Regions from separate parts of the Homo sapiens genome. Here all the other regions are linked to region 1. Evidence: promoter capture Hi-C in 16 types of primary human blood cells and fetal thymus (Javierre and others, 2016). All regions are on one chromosome and are shown on one strand. The core of a region is centred on a gene start or on the middle of the fragment in contact, and the rest is flanking DNA. Distances in the headings are between cores, read along the strand shown. Region 1 holds the start of IPO8 (importin 8). Region 2 overlaps MRPS35 (mitochondrial ribosomal protein S35). Region 3 holds the start of KLHL42 (kelch like family member 42). Region 4 overlaps LOC729291 (a long non-coding RNA gene). Region 5 has its middle 5.9 kb from the start of YARS2. Region 6 overlaps DNM1L (dynamin 1 like).

Region 1 (2,529 bases), core at 18-2,517:
GTTAAGTCTGGACTGAAGCCCCGTAATTTGCATAATTTGTAAGTTCTCAGGTGATGCTGAAGCTCCAGGTCCTGGGCAACGCTTTGAGAACAGCTGATTTTGGAATATTTACATTTTACAAGTCATCACAACCTAAAACAGCTGTTGCTCCATCCCAGTGGTAGCTCTTAATCCCTACTTTTTAGTAAGAGGTCTGTGATTCTTAAGTACCGGTAGGGAAGAAGAAATAAGCTGGAGTTTGGGATCATTAAAATTTTGAAGTGTGGGGGTAACGCTGGAAAGACGTCAAGGCTAATTAGGAAGAACAGGAGACGGAGAAAAGAAAGAAGTCTTACACATTTTAGCATTCATAAGAAATTTCTCCAACACATCTTACTTTGATGTGTCTTAGATAAAGCAGTATCACCATGAAAACTGCCTATTCTTCCCAGAGCACTCTCCCAACAGCACTGCCCAGCGCTCCGCAAAACTCGGCCAATCGGTGTCAAAACAGTCCTGCCAACCCGACAGGAGGAGGCGGTGGGCAGCGTGCTCCACAGCAACACCTAAAAAGGGCTGGGTTTGGAAAAAAGCTGAACTCAGATTTGAACTGTAAGTAAAATTCCCACCTGCTCCCCAAGTCCGCGCACTTAAGGAAAATAAATCACACCCTGAAAACACTAGCACAGGTTGCAAAAACTGCTTCTTGCGGACCAAGTAGGCAGAACAAACTGCCCTGGAGAAGGGAGACGACACGAAAAGGTGCAAAGGTGGCCAACAGGTGCGCGAGCTGTTCGGCAAAGATCCTGGGAGCCCTGCTCCACTGGACCGGGGGGCAGCGGGGTCGGAGAGCGGGACCAGCCGTGAGGCGTCAGCCCCAGCCCGGTGGGGGTGAGGACGAGGGGCGCCGGGGAGAGGGAGCCCGGCCAGCCGGCAGGGGCGCCCCTTCGGCGGAAGAGGGTCGCCGAAGACCCTCTCCTCACCTGGTTGAGCTCGTTCTCGGCTGCAATCCGCAACTTCGGGTCGATGGTGCCCTTCAGCGCCTGGATGATCCGGTTGAGGTCCATCTCCCCGGGTGGGGGCTCCGCGGCCCCCGGAACAGTAGGCCGGACTGCAGCTTTAGTTTTCTTTTGACCCTCTCAGCCTCCTCTTCCGCGACCCCTGGATTACCTCACACCCCACCCCCCGCCACCGTCGCCACCTGCGGCCACTTGCTGCGCCACTCTGACTCCGCGCCCCCTGTCCTCCCTTTTTCCCCCCCACAACTCGCTCTCCATTCACCGTTTTACGACAGCCGGTGGGAGGCGGGAGAAGGAAGAAGAGGAAGCAGAGCTTCCTTTACGGCGGCCTCTTCCCCCGGGCGTGATGCTATGACCGCCTCCCGTCGGCGGCCGCCATGCTGCTGTACGGAAAACGGCCTAGGCTTCTTTCCCGGAAAGGAACCCGCGCTCCCGAACTCAGGCAGGCGGCCGCTATGCTTCCGTACGGTAAACAGCCTCCCGCCTCTTCCCAGGTGAGGAAACTTGAGCTGGCCGGGAGTCTGCTTACAGCTGCTTCCAAATTAAGCATATCTGGATGGTGTGACACTTTTTGTTAGTCCGAGAACTGTATGGGCATCGCAACTGGGCCTGTTCCAAGATAGACTTGTTGGGACCTTCAAATCATGTACCTTACAGGAGGACAGGGTTCCTCCGTGTGTGGGAGTCATCGTTCATTCATTCATTCGCTTTCACTGAACATTTGTTAAACATATATTTTTGAACCAGAGTACTAGGATTTTTAGGTACCACATTATAACAAGATGAATTCCATGCAAGTTAATGTGAAGGAATTCACAACCTGATAGATGAGACAAATATAAACAAAAAAAATTTACAGTGTAGAAATGATAGGGGAGTGCTGGGAAGGGAAGAGCGTGGTCCCTTTAAATGATAGGGATGGGCGAAGTGAAGTGCTGGGTAGAGGAGTGTGTGGTCCCTTGCTAGGGCTCCACGCCCACCGACCTAGGTGAGGACTGACACTCCTGCCTTCCAGCCCAAATGTTGCATTTCCCAAGACCACCCTGGCCTGCCACTCCCCCATACTGTGCCTATGAAAACCCCAGACCCTAGCAGGCAGGTACACAGGCAGCCAGACGTCCAGAGGAGCATAAGGGTGGAAGAAGAGGAGCTCGCTGGCACATCCGCAGGCCATTCACGGGCAGAACGATGCGGAGGTTGGCCTGGGCAGTCGGAAAAGAGCCCGGGCCGCCAAGCGGCCTAACTCCAGAGGAAAACCATTTCCCTTCTGGGTCCCTCATCTGCTGAGGGCTACTTCCACTCAATAAAACTTTGCACTCATTCTCCAAGCCCACGTGTGATCCAATTCTTCTGGTACACCAAGGCAAGAACCCAGGATACAGAAAGCTCGCTGTCTGTGCGACAAGGTAGAGGGTCTAATTGAGCTGGTTAACACAAGCCCCCTAAAGGCAAACTGAAAGAGCATCCTGTAACACACACCCACTGGGGCTTCAGGAGCTGTAAACATTCACCCCCAGACTCTGTCAAGGGG
Region 2 (2,529 bases), core at 13-2,512, 3.0 Mb before region 1:
TTCCCCAACTGATTAGAGTTTTCCAGAGAGACAGAACGTAGATGTAGGATAGGATAGATGTAGATGTAGATATATAGACATATGATGGGATTTTTTAGGGGAATTGACTCACCCCACAATAGGCTGTCTGCAAGCTGGAAGCCCATGTCAGTCCAAGTTCAGAAACCTCAGAACCACAGAAGCCATGTAATTTTCAGGCCAAGGCTGAAGGCCTAAGAACTCAGGGGGCTGCGTGTACAAGTTCCTGGAGTCCAAAGGCTGGAGCACCTGGAGTTCTGATGTCCAAGGGCAGGGGAAGAGTGTCCCAGGTCCAGAAGAGAGAGAGAGAGAATATATTCTTCTTTCATCTGCCTTTTTGTTCTTTCTGTGCCCTCAGCTGATTGGATGATGCCCACCCACATTGAGAGCAGGTATTCCTCACTCAGTCCACTGACTCAAATGCCTGTCTCTCCTGGAAACATCCCCACAGACATGCCCAGAAATAATGCTTTACCACATGTCTATGTATTCCTCAATCCAGTCAAATTGACACAAAGTTAACTATCATGGCTGGGCACAGTGACTCACCCCTGTAATCCCAGCACTTTGGGAGGCTGAGGTGGGTGGATCGCTGGAGCTCAAGAGCTTGAGACCAGCCTGGCAACATGGCGAAACACCGTCTCTACAAGAATTAGCCGGGTGTGCTCATGTCTTTAGTCCTAGCTACTTGGGGTGCTGAGGTAGAAGGATTGGCTTGAACCTGGTAGTTCGAGGCTGCAGTAAGCCGAGATTGCACCACTGCAATCCAGCCTGGGCGAGAGTGAGATGACCTTGTCTCAAAAAAAAAAAAAAAAAAAGAAAGAAAGAGAAAAAAGAAAAAATTCACCGTCATACAAACTAATTGACTAGGTTTCGTTCCCTGCTATATGTGTTCATAATATTTATCACTGTTTATTGAAATTATTTGTTAAAAAGTTGTCTTACTTGACAGACTCTGTAAGAGTCATTTTTTAGATAATGAATTCACTGTATCTGCAATTCAAATAACTGTAGAATTTTCCTTACTGGGGCTAGGCACAGTGGCTCACACCTGCCCACCGCACTTTGGGAGACTGAGGCAGGCGGATCACTTCAGGTCAGCAGTTTGAGACCAGCCTGGCCAACATGGTGAAACTCTATCTCTACTAAAAATACAAAAATTAGCCAGGTGTGGTGGGGTGTACTGGTAGTCGCAGCTACTTGGGAGGCTGAGGCAGGAGAATCACTTGAACTCCGGAGGTAGAGGTTGCAGTGAGCCGAGATCACACCACTGCAATCCAATCTGGGTGATACGCCGAGACTCCCTCTGTTTCCAGTTTTTAGTCTTCATTAAGATGATTTTGGTCCCTGAGCTTACCAAAAAAAAAAAAAAAAAGATTGTTTCATTGTTATGTTACTAAATACCTTAAATTGTGTTAGAATAATGGGATCATGATTGATGTTGAACAACTAACTTGACATGATAAAATTCTCTTTAACTACTGTGTTATCTTTTACGTACAGCGGAAAGAACACCCGGAAATGAAAGGCCACCAAGAAGAAAGGTAAAAAGTTCGTATACTCTACTATCTTAATGGTTTCTGGAGTTCTAAAATGAGGCAGATATTCATTATAAGGCAGAAGGGTGTTACCAGAGAAGACTTCACAAGGTCATGTTTACTGGGTGATTGCCATAGCCCTGGCAGAGGTTAGTCTTTGTTTTTTGTCAGTACCCAGAGAATAGATGATCTTTGAGAGGTTGACTTACTGAGGAACTCCCAGGAAACAGGTGTATAAACCAGAATATGGAACAATTTCTAATGCTATCTTAAGTCCTGCAGCCTGGGACTTATGCATTAATATAACTAGTTTGTTTATTTATTTATTATTATTTATTTGAGATAGAGTTTCCCACTTGTTGCCCAGCTGGAGTGCAGTGGTGCAGTCTTGGCTCACTGGTACCTCTGCCTCCCGGGTTCAAGTGGTTCTCCTGCCTCAGCCTCCCAAGTAGCTGGGACTACAGGCACACACCTCCATGCCTGGCTAATTTTTTGTGTTTTTAGTAGAGAGAGGTTTTCACCATGTTGGTCAGGCTGGTCTTGAATTCCTGACCTCAGGTGATCCACCCGCCTCAGTGCTGGGATTACAGGCGTGAGCTACTGCACCTGGCCTCCCAAAGTGCTGGGATTACAGGCATGAGCCACGGCACCTGGCCGTATTCTAACTAGTTGAGTCTCACCCTGTGGACATTTGGATTCCTTACTTCTATGGAGGAATCTAAACGATAAGGTCAGTTGGTGAGCAATAGTGTCAGAACAAAGACACATTAGTTGGAAGTTAAATGGTATCAAATTACAATCATTAAGAGCAGTCATTTCCTCAGGACTATTACCTGCTTCTAGGATATTGACTACACTGGTTTTGATATTGCGTAGGCGGGGCATGGCTGAATTTTGCCACTATAAACCCTACTTTTGTATGTGGGCCATCCCCTCGTATTTGATGCCATTAAAAATAAATGTTAATGTGATT
Region 3 (2,529 bases), core at 16-2,515, 2.9 Mb before region 1:
CAGCAATTCTCCTGCCTCAGCCTCCCGAGTAGCTGGGATCACAGGCGCGTGCCACCACGCCCGGCTAATTTTTGTATTTTTAGTAGAGACGGGGTTTCACCATGTTGGCCATGGTGCTCTCGAACTCCTGACCTCGTGATCTGCCCACCTGGGCTTCCCAAAGTCATGGGATTACAGGCGTGAGCCACCGCGCTCAGCCAAACCGCACGTGTGGTCTCTCTTAATAGTCCTCAGATGATGGGGGCAGGGTAGGTGGAGAAAGGGGGTGACAAGAAAAGCTACTTCTTGCAGACATTTATGAGCCAATTTTGTCAGATCTTTTGCGCCAGGATAACATTCCGTAATGGACTGGACTGAAGTAGAAAAGCAATGGCTCATAGAAAACATGGTTTAAAACCAGAAGCCACGTGATGTAACTTTATTTAGTCGGGCTGCGCTTTCATCTTTCTTTTAATAACTTAGGGAGAATAAGGGGCCCCAGTGGCAAATGCAAGCTCCCCTGCCTCCCAACCCGATTCCTCTGAGAACCTGCTGCCATCTGCCTGGACCTCCTGTAAGATGGCTCCTACGCGACCACGCTACCAGAGAATCAGCTCTACGTGCCACCAACATTGCCACCAACTGTCCATAGATCGCCTGCGTGCCTCAGCCCACTGACACTCGATGCCGGACTGGGCCAGAAGGACGACCCCATATTTGATGCCTTTTTGTCTCCCTGGACCAGAGACTCCATCCTTCCCTTTCCTCCCACGCTCATTTCTTTTTCTTTAGCCCGTGTAAAGCAGCGTGGGAGAGAAAACGAATTTCTTCTCCCTGGGGTACCCCGGAGCATCACTGCAGCCCCCAACAAGCGGCGGAGCCGGCGCGCCCCGGGCGGGCGGAGAGGCTGCGGGGACGCGCGCCCTCCGCCTCCCGCAGCTGCGCGTCCGCAGCCGAGGCGCCCGGGCCCGCAGCTTCCCGGGCCTCCCCGAGAGCCGGATCCAGCCGGCAGGTCAGGCCGGCGGCTGGGGTCCCGCGGGCGGAAGTGAGAAGGGCGGCGGGGGAGGAGGCTGCTGGCTGGGAGCTGGAATTCCCTTCCCGCCTGGCGCCGCCCGGGAGAGCCCGCGCGAGGACGCCCGCCGCGCTCCGCCGGCCCTTTTTTGGCGCTGAGGGAAAGGAGAAGGGCAGGGCCGCCGCCTCGCGGGAGCGGGCCCCGGGAGGAGGGGCCGCCGGAGAGGCCGGGCGAGCGCGGGCGGCCCTCACCTCGCCGCTCCTCCCGGGCCGCCATCCCTCGGCGCCCCGCCCGGAACCGGCGCGCGCGTAGGGGCTGGGAGGCCGGCGCGCAGATCTGGCGGTGAGCGCTGCCGCCCCGGGGCCCCCAGCCATGTCGGCCGAGGAGATGGTGCAGATCCGCCTGGAGGACCGCTGCTACCCGGTGAGCAAGAGGAAGCTCATCGAGCAGAGCGACTACTTCCGCGCCCTCTACCGCTCCGGCATGCGCGAGGCCCTGAGCCAGGAGGCCGGCGGCCCGGAGGTGCAGCAGCTGCGCGGCCTCAGCGCGCCGGGCCTGCGGCTGGTGCTGGACTTCATCAACGCCGGCGGGGCCCGCGAAGGCTGGCTCCTGGGCCCGCGCGGGGAAAAGGGCGGCGGGGTGGACGAGGACGAGGAGATGGATGAGGTGAGCCTGCTGTCCGAGCTGGTGGAGGCGGCCTCCTTCCTGCAGGTCACGTCCCTGCTGCAGCTGCTGCTGTCCCAGGTGCGGCTCAATAACTGCCTGGAGATGTACCGCCTGGCGCAGGTGTACGGGCTGCCCGACCTGCAGGAGGCCTGCCTGCGCTTCATGGTCGTCCACTTCCACGAGGTGCTGTGCAAGCCCCAGTTCCACCTCCTGGGGTCTCCTCCCCAAGCTCCAGGGGATGTCAGCCTGAAGCAGAGGCTGAGGGAGGCCCGGATGACTGGGACTCCTGTCCTCGTGGCCCTCGGGGACTTCCTGGGGGGACCCCTGGCCCCTCACCCCTACCAGGGGGAGCCCCCGTCCATGCTCAGGTACGAGGAGATGACTGAGCGTTGGTTCCCGCTGGCCAACAACCTTCCTCCCGACCTGGTCAATGTCAGGGGCTATGGGTCTGCCATCCTGGACAACTACCTCTTCATAGTGGGCGGGTACAGGATCACTAGCCAGGAGATCTCCGCTGCGCATTCCTACAACCCCAGCACCAACGAGTGGCTCCAGGTGGCCTCCATGAACCAGAAGAGGTAAGCACCCCGGCAGAGTGCTGCTGCCTTCTCATTCATTCACTTGTTCATTAGTTCATTACCCCAGTGTTTACTGAGCCAGTAAATAGGGGAGGGTGTGCTGTGGTGGAAATGACATCTTCAGGAATGTTGTTGGCCTTGGCGCTGGCAAAATTCCCAATGAACTAAGAAATTGCGAAGAGGACGTCCCCAGTGAGGTCAAGAAGTGGAGTGGTTTTTTGGCAGGTATTGTGCCTTTAGGTGAAACTGCTTTCTTTGCCTCTGTTCTTGTGAAAAAAGATGTTGTGGTTTCCT
Region 4 (2,529 bases), core at 17-2,516, 2.5 Mb before region 1:
TGTGGTCTGAATGTTTTTGTCCCCCCACAATTCATATGTTAAACTTAATCACCAATGAGATAGCGTTAGGAGGTGGGGCCTTTGGGAGGTGATTAAATCATGAGGACACAAGCCTCATGACTAGGATTACTGCCCTTATAAAAGAGGCTCCAGAGAGCCGCCCTGTCTCTTCCACCACATGAGGACACAGCTAGAAGGCACAATCTATGACCCAGAAAGCAGGGCCCCACTAGACATCCAATCTGCTGGTGTCTTAATCTTGAACTTCTTAGACTCCAGACCTGTGAGAAATAAATTTGCATTCATAAGCTACCCAGTATTTTTCTATAGCAGCCTGAACAAACTAAGATACCATCATTGTAGTGTTTCATTATTCTTATCACCAAGTGCCCAATCTTCCTCTTGATGACTACAGCCAGAAACCTGGAATATATCTTCAATTCTTTCTTCTTCTTCTTACTCCTCCTTTTTTTTTTTTTTTTGAAAGGGTCTTGCTCTGTCATCCAGCTGGAATGCAGTGGCACAATCACAGCTCACTGCAGCCTCCACCTCCCAGGCTCCAGTGATCCTCCTACCTCAGCCTCCCACATTGCTGGGGTTACACGTATAAGCCACCGTGACTGGCTTCTTTCCTCCTTTTTTGTTGGCCATGTGCCTTTAAAATCCTTTCTGCCAATTTCATGGGTACCATCTCGGCTCAGGCAGTCATTAATTCCTCATTTTAGTTATTTTATGTCTTCTATCTGGTTTGTTTGTTTTTCTAGTCTTGGCCCCGTCTCTCCTACCCAATAATCCTTCCTCTATACTGCTGCTGAAGTAATTCTTCTCCAACCTTGCTTAACTAATTCAGCAATTTCCCATTACCTTCAGGATACAGTTCAAACTCCTTAACACAGTTTACAAAACTCTTCATCATCTTACATCTACATTTCCCATTTCTCCTGCTGCATACCTGCATACCACAATGTTTGCTTCTATGGTATGCTTACCTGCAAAATATACTTACCTCCACAGTTCATAGACAAGGAAATATATACAAAGGTATATGTTCCTTTTTCTGGAGCATACTCATGTCTTTCCTTAGCTTGGTCAATTCCAATAGATTCTTCAGGACTAATCCTGAGCTTTGATACATTCTATGAGAAGTACTTCCTGTTTAACCTAGGCTGAGTGAGGTGTTCTTTCTCCACCTTTTAGCAATAACCTTTATTTCAGTGTTTATTATCACTGTAATATCTGATTTGATTGTATATTTTTCTAGATGTGATTCTCTTAAGGGCAGGCACCATGTTTTTCATCTCAGAAGGTCACAAACTATTAGGAAAATGGGCTTGCAGATACATGTACAACAAAGAATAATAATTGAAGATGGCTCATGGAAAAAGTATTCTGAAAAGTAAGAGAGGCACATGTTCTAGAGAGACAAGAAAAGGCACAATAGAGAAATTAGAGCCCTCATACATTGCTGGTGAGAAAGTAAAATGGTACAGCCACTTTGGAAAACAGTGTGGTAGTTCCACAAGGGGTTAAACATAGAGTTACCATATGACCCCGCAATTCCACTCTTAGGTATATATCCAAGAGAAATGAGAACATATGTTGACACGAAAACTTGTACATGAATGTCAACAGGAGCATTATTCATAATATTCAAAAAGCTGAAACAACCCAACCGATGAAGGGACTTTGAAAACATGTTAAGTGAAAGAAGCCAGTCACAAAAGACCACACATTGCATGATTCCATTTATATGAAATGTTCAAGATAGACAAATGCATACAGACGGAAAGTGGATTACTGGTTGCCTAGGGCTGGGGAGAGGAGGGAGAAGTTGGGGCCAAAGGGTATGGGGTTTCTTTTTGGGGCTGTGAAAATACTCTAAAATCGAATGTGGTAAAGCATGCATAACTCTGTGAATATACTAAAATCACTGAATTGTTTATAAAGAAAAAGATTACTGTGGGGAAGGAAGAAAGATTTCATGGAGTTGGTAGGATTTGAATTCACTGATAAATAAGTGATATAAAAAGCAAAGTGATGTGCTATAGTGAATAAACAAGCCCTTCTGTTGGGCAGATCTGGCTTTAAATCCACTTGGTCAATTTACACTTCCTAAATCTGTAACCTCATCTAAAGTGTAAATATATTAATATACCTACTTTGTAAAATTATTGTGGTAAGTTATATATGGGATTTAAAATATTTAATCTAATGCCAGGCACATAGCAAATATTAATAATAAATATTAGTTACTTATTATAAATCTGTTTAGTATGGAATACAGTTTAGTATTGAATATCGGGACAGAGTGAACATGTAAGTACATCAATGGGAAGGAACTCCCAGAAACTAATCTGGTTTCCAGCAGAAAGAGATATGAGAGACAAAATAATATAAAGGTAACCTTACTAAGTTTAAGAAATATTTATGAATACCTTTTTTCTAACTACTAGACACTTTGCTAGACTGCTGGATACACAAAGACAAATGAGAAGTGAGTAGATTGCTGGATATACAAGTGAGAAGTGG
Region 5 (2,529 bases), core at 20-2,519, 2.1 Mb after region 1:
AGATTAGCTTATTTTAAGATGCTGATTGTAGGAGGATAATTAGACAAAGAAACATGTTACTAGATATGCATTTCCTTTCTATATTAGAGTTTAGAGAAGGATACCCCAAGTTTCTTTCTTTCTTTCTTTTAGGCTGCTGTTGTAGCCAGTGGAATAACCTGGAGGTCTCAGCATTGCCTTAACTTTATGCACCTGGTCCCATACCATATGGCTGGATAATGTTTTGAGATATTTATGGGTTTAAAAATCTTTCATTTTCCAGGCCGGGTGCGGTGGCTCACGCCTGTAATCCCAGCACTTTGGGAGGCCGAGGTGGGCAGATCACGAGGTCAGGAGTTCGAGACCAGCCTGGCCAACATAGTGAAAACCCGTCTCTTCCAAAAATACAAAAATTAGCCAGGTGTGGTGGCACACGCCTGTAGTCCCATCTACTCAGGAGGCTGAGGCGGGAGAGTCGCTTGAACCCGGAAGGCAGAGGTTGCAGTGAGCTGAGACCACGCCATTGCACTCCAGCCTGGGTGACAGAGTGAGACTCCGTCTCAAAAAAACAAAGAAATAAAAAATCTTTCATTTTCCTCTCTTCATTTTAACTGTCCATTTGTAGCAAGTTCTGTGTGTCAGTGCCTTGGGGAAAGTACAAGTCGGGGAGGAATACAGAGTCATCCTGGAACTCTTTGTAACTTTTGTTTCCAAAAGTCAAAAGCCTAAGATAGGATGAAGTTTAAGGAAATAAGCTTAGAGAAGAGAAAGAGGTAGGATTCTCCAGCTTAAAGAGAGTGCCCCTGCCCCAAACCTGGGCAAGGGAGCCCTGGCTATGGCCCTGGTTTGCCAGAGGAGCTGTGCATTGCTCCCTGGCCTCAAAGGGACGACCTCCTGCTACACTTCCAGCCTGGGGCTCCTGGCTTTGCCTAAGGTTCCTCTGCTTCATTTGAGGCAGGAGAGCCCCTGAGTGCCAGCTGGAGGTCTCAGAGAACCACTGAAGGCTTGGCCAACAAGGATGGCTAGAATGATCAGAACCAATTGGAAATTAGAGATATTATTTCCTGGGGCACGTTGATCAAATTTTGGTAAAACCCTAGAAGCGGGAAGGAGGCTAATAATGATGGAGAAACAATTTCCTACCATTCTAGTGGGTTAAGGACATAGATGTTTGCTTATTCATTTAACAGATATTTATTAGAATTATTTGATCAGTCAGGCACTGTTCTAATGGCTTAGGATATATTCATGGATGAAAGAAAGATTCCTGTCCTCATGGAGATAATATTATTCTATGAAGTTATTTTTCTCTGAGCAGTTTTATTCTTCACTTCCTCTTTCTTCATTTCCTCTTTCTGATTGGGCTCCTTTTCCACGCCCAATTTTTGGAGCAGAGAGAGAGTGACTCCTAGGTAGCTGTTGAAGAACATGCAGATTAGGAGGGGGCTGTGGGAGAGAAACATTTGTTGAGAATATGACCAAGGGAAAGACATCCCTTGTAGGAGGGTGGTGATTGAGGTGTAGAGTAGAATTCAAACAGCTTTTCCCCTTTCAATATGTAATTGTGTCTCCCTTCACTCCTGCTGCAGTGAATTTTTCTCCTCGCAGAACCCTTTCCCCAACATCCACCCCTTCTGCTCTGAGCTTGGTGATAGCCGCCGCAGTCCCCTACCAGCATGTTCTTTCCCAGGCCATGTTGTCGGGACTGTAATTCAGCCATGACTGGCAAGCAACGAATCCGCCTGGCTGTTTGCTAATGTGATGAGAAAAGCAGGCTTCCCTCTTAGAAAGAGGATCTTGGAGACACTATTGTGATTGCATCTGAAAAGCTTAGATCAAATGGATAATGTCTTCAGTGAAGATCATTTTGGAATTTTCCTATTTATCAAGTTACCTTAGTAATTTTCTGGTCTCTCTGACAGAGTAGAAGTGAATCAATCAACTCATCATTGTCCCTCCATCAAGGCCAAGTGAATTTATATCTCCATTGGAGAAGAAACAAAACAATAAGCAATCATTCTATGTTTTGTAGAGCAATTCTATTTTGATTAAAACTATTTTTGTCTTTTTTTCTCAGTGTCTTCAATACGGACTTTATGTTTTTCTGTTATAAGCACTGACTGGTTAGTTACCAAAATGAGAAATAAGTCTGGAAACATCTCACTCATTAATGTTCTGTAACATCATAAGGGGAACAAATACCTTGTATTTACATAATGTTTGCAGAAAAGTCAAATATTACTTCCTTCATCCTCACAACCATAACAAAATGTGCTTCTGAGTCGTGGTCCAAAGACCATGGGACTAGGAGTCACAGACATGAGTAGCTATCTCAGCTTAACCTTGACTACCTGTTCCTCCTTAGATAAGTCATTTAACACACTAGCCTTGGTGTCCTCATTTTAGAAGTAAATGGGCTGGGCTTGGCGCGGTGGCTCATGCCTGTAATCCCAGCATTTTGGGAGGCCGAGGCAGGCAAATCACGACGTGGTCAGGAGATCGAGACCATCCTGGCTAACACGGTGAAACCCTGTCTCTACTAACAATACA
Region 6 (2,529 bases), core at 10-2,509, 2.0 Mb after region 1:
TTTTTAAGCCTCATCCATACTGTAGTATGAATCAGTATAGTCACGCACCACATAACATTTTAGTCAACAGACCACGTATTTGAATGTGTTCCCGTTAGATTATGATACCATGTTTTTGCTGTACATTTCCTATGTTTAGATACACAAATACTATTGTGTTACAGTTCCCTATTCAGTACAGTAACATGCTGTACATGTTTGCAGCCTGGAGCAATAGGCTATCCCATATAGCTTAGGCGTGTCATAGGCTATACCATCTACGTTTGTGTAAGTACACTCTGTGCTGTGCATGTAATGAAATCACCTAATAATGCATTTCTCAAAGCATATCCGTGTCATTAAGTGACATATCTTTTGTGTGAATAATACTAGATTATGTAGATATACTGTGTTTAAGCATTCATCAGCTGATGTTTGGATTTTTCTCACTTCTTGGCTATTATGAATAAATGCTTATTGAAGAGTTTTGAAATAAAGATGATGAAAAGAAGGTAAAGTATCAAGAATTGTTGCTTTTGTTTTTTTTTTTGAGACACAGTCTCACTCTGTTGCCCAGGCTGGAGTGCAGTGGCGCGTTCTTGGCTCACTGCAATCTCCACCTCCTGGGTTCAAGTGATTCTCGTATCTCAGCCTCCCGAGTAGCTGGGATCACAGGCATGTGCCACCACACTCAGCTAATTTTTTATTTTTAGTGCAGACGGTGTTTCACCATGTTGGCCAGGCTGCTGTCAAACTCCTGGCCTCAAGCAGTCCACCCGCGTCAGCCTCCCAGAGTGCTGGGATTACAGGCATGAGCCACTGCGCCTGGCCGAGAACTGCTTTTCTTAATGTTTAATTACAGTTAAGCAAAAATCTAAAGGGCGATTATGCCATTAATGAAATATCCAAAGTAGTAGTGTTCTTACTTAACTTTATTTCATGAGGTTAGCATCTAAGCCCAAATTGTTAAAAGTAGAATTTTGGCTAAAATTCCATAATTTGGTTGTGTTTTGCAGTGTGCCAAAGGCAGTAATGCATTTTTTGGTTAATCATGTGAAAGACACTCTTCAGAGTGAGCTAGTAGGCCAGCTGTATAAATCATCCTTATTGGATGATCTTCTGACAGAATCTGAGGACATGGCACAGCGCAGGAAAGAAGCAGCTGATATGCTAAAGGTATTGTGGACCTTTTGATTTTTTATACTTGGGTAGTAGATAGAAACATAGAAATAGTTTTAAATGCAGTTTGATTCTTGGATATGTATAGTCTTTATATTCTAGCTAGGCTTGTTTCCTGTTGGTACTTGATAAGAATCTTTTTTTTTTTTTTTTTTTTTTTTTGAGTGGGAGTCTGGCTCTGTCGCCCAGGCTGGAGTGCAGTGGCACAATCTCGGCTCACTGCAAGCGCCGCCTCCCAGGTTCACGCCATTCTCCTGCCTCAGCCTCCCGAGTAGCTGGGACTACAGGCGCCCACCACCACACCCAGCTAATTTTTTGTATTTTTAGTAGAGACGGGGTTTCACCATGTTAGCCAGGATAGTCTCTAACTCCTGACCTCATGATCCGCCCGCCTCGACCTCCCAAAGTGCTGGGATTACAGGCATGAGCCACTGCGCCTGGCCGGTACTTGATTAGATTCTAATTCCAGAGAAGATATTGGTTAGTATAAACTGGTTAGTTATAAACCTACCACATATATATTGGAAAAATTACCCTGCGTAATTCAGATTAATTTCATAACTTTATAATAAGCATTTAAAATTTTTTTTCCTTTAATGCAGGCATTACAAGGAGCCAGTCAAATTATTGCTGAAATCCGGGAGACTCATCTTTGGTGAAGAGAACTATGTAATACTGAGACTTTGTTGACTCAAAACTTGCTAGTTACTGCCTACCTGAGTAGAATCTTATTTATGAACTCCTGTGTATTGCAATGGTATGAATCTGCTCATGTGGAGACTGGCTATAAACTGAAAAGTGTATTCCAAATTGCAGAACACATCACACATTTAATCCAAATAATAAATGGCTGTTTCTAAAGTTTCCCAGTATATATAAAATACATCAAGTCTGTCTTGTGACAGTTTCATCTGAACTTAACTTAAAAACAACTGTTAATGTTCTAGTTGTGCAAAGCAGTTTGCCTGTGGATAAGATGACCTGTGTAATAATCTTTGTTAGTAGTCTTAAAGCTGCTGCCATAGTCCTCCAAGAAGAAAGCACCAAGACAACATTTCATATGACTATAATGCATGTACTATATAAGCTGATCTGGCTTTGAAAGATGTGAGTTGGCAAGTTCCTCACATAGAGTCATTGTATTCCACCTGTCCTTCAATTTAGTTTTTTCTGAGCTTCTTTGCAGCCTTTGATGTGTTTTTAAGAAAGCTGAATGCACAAGAGGATCTGTGACACTGACATGGCTGTGGTGTGCATACTGTGTAGTTACATAGCCCTTCCAATTCTGGGTCCATTTGCACTAGCAAATTAAAATATGCTTTGATTCATACTTAAACCTGAAAGCAGGAATGCCTACATTAATTCCTACAT

The links. Contacts are between HindIII fragments. The CHiCAGO score rates a contact against its expected background, and 5 or more counts as called.
Region 2: a fragment that was not itself captured here is called in contact with the fragment with the promoter of IPO8 in region 1 in 2 of 17 cell types (total B cells and naive B cells); the score reaches 6.2 in total B cells.
Region 3: the fragment with the promoter of KLHL42 here is called in contact with the fragment with the promoter of IPO8 in region 1 in 2 of 17 cell types (M0 macrophages and M1 macrophages); the score reaches 7.1 in M0 macrophages.
Region 4: a fragment that was not itself captured here is called in contact with the fragment with the promoter of IPO8 in region 1 in 1 of 17 cell types (naive B cells); the score reaches 5.0 in naive B cells.
Region 5: a fragment that was not itself captured here is called in contact with the fragment with the promoter of IPO8 in region 1 in 1 of 17 cell types (total B cells); the score reaches 6.0 in total B cells.
Region 6: a contact is called between a fragment that was not itself captured here and the fragment with the promoter of IPO8 in region 1, in 2 of 17 cell types (activated CD4 T cells and total B cells). The highest score is 5.1, in activated CD4 T cells.

What each region holds. Positions count from the first base shown.
Region 1 is chr12:30,694,602-30,697,130 of GRCh38, forward strand. It overlaps IPO8 (importin 8), which reads right to left and starts at 1,268. Exons shown (of 25, transcript NM_006390.4): 1 at 963-1,268. The coding sequence starts at 1,046. RefSeq lists a silencer at 1,018-1,067 and an enhancer at 1,158-1,657. The HindIII fragment of the contact is 4,530 bases long and covers 1-2,529 here.
Region 2 is chr12:27,713,259-27,715,787 of GRCh38, forward strand. MRPS35 (mitochondrial ribosomal protein S35) reads left to right here. Exons shown (of 8, transcript NM_021821.4): 2 at 1,522-1,562. Among named protein-coding and RNA genes, the nearest start is that of MRPS35, 3.7 kb to the left of the region's middle. The HindIII fragment of the contact is 6,666 bases long and covers 1-2,529 here.
Region 3 is chr12:27,778,968-27,781,496 of GRCh38, forward strand. KLHL42 (kelch like family member 42) reads left to right here and starts at 1,266. Exons shown (of 3, transcript NM_020782.2): 1 at 1,266-2,235. The coding sequence starts at 1,364. MANSC4 (MANSC domain containing 4) reads right to left here and starts at 1,269. Exons shown (of 4, transcript NM_001146221.5): 1 at 1,243-1,269. RefSeq lists silencers at 868-1,087, 1,108-1,417 and an enhancer at 1,283-1,782. The HindIII fragment of the contact is 8,648 bases long and covers 1-2,529 here.
Region 4 is chr12:28,186,602-28,189,130 of GRCh38, forward strand. LOC729291 (a long non-coding RNA gene) reads right to left here. Exons shown (of 1, transcript NR_148936.1): 1 at 1-2,529. Among named protein-coding and RNA genes, the nearest start is that of CCDC91, 2.6 kb to the right of the region's middle. The HindIII fragment of the contact is 3,286 bases long and covers 1-2,529 here.
Region 5 is chr12:32,760,566-32,763,094 of GRCh38, forward strand. No RefSeq gene overlaps it. Among named protein-coding and RNA genes, the nearest start is that of YARS2, 5.9 kb to the left of the region's middle. The HindIII fragment of the contact is 1,074 bases long and covers 733-1,806 here.
Region 6 is chr12:32,741,594-32,744,122 of GRCh38, forward strand. It overlaps DNM1L (dynamin 1 like), which reads left to right. Exons shown (of 20, transcript NM_012062.5): 19 at 996-1,155; 20 at 1,761-2,529. The coding sequence ends at 1,817. Among named protein-coding and RNA genes, the nearest start is that of YARS2, 13 kb to the right of the region's middle. The HindIII fragment of the contact is 8,280 bases long and covers 1-2,529 here.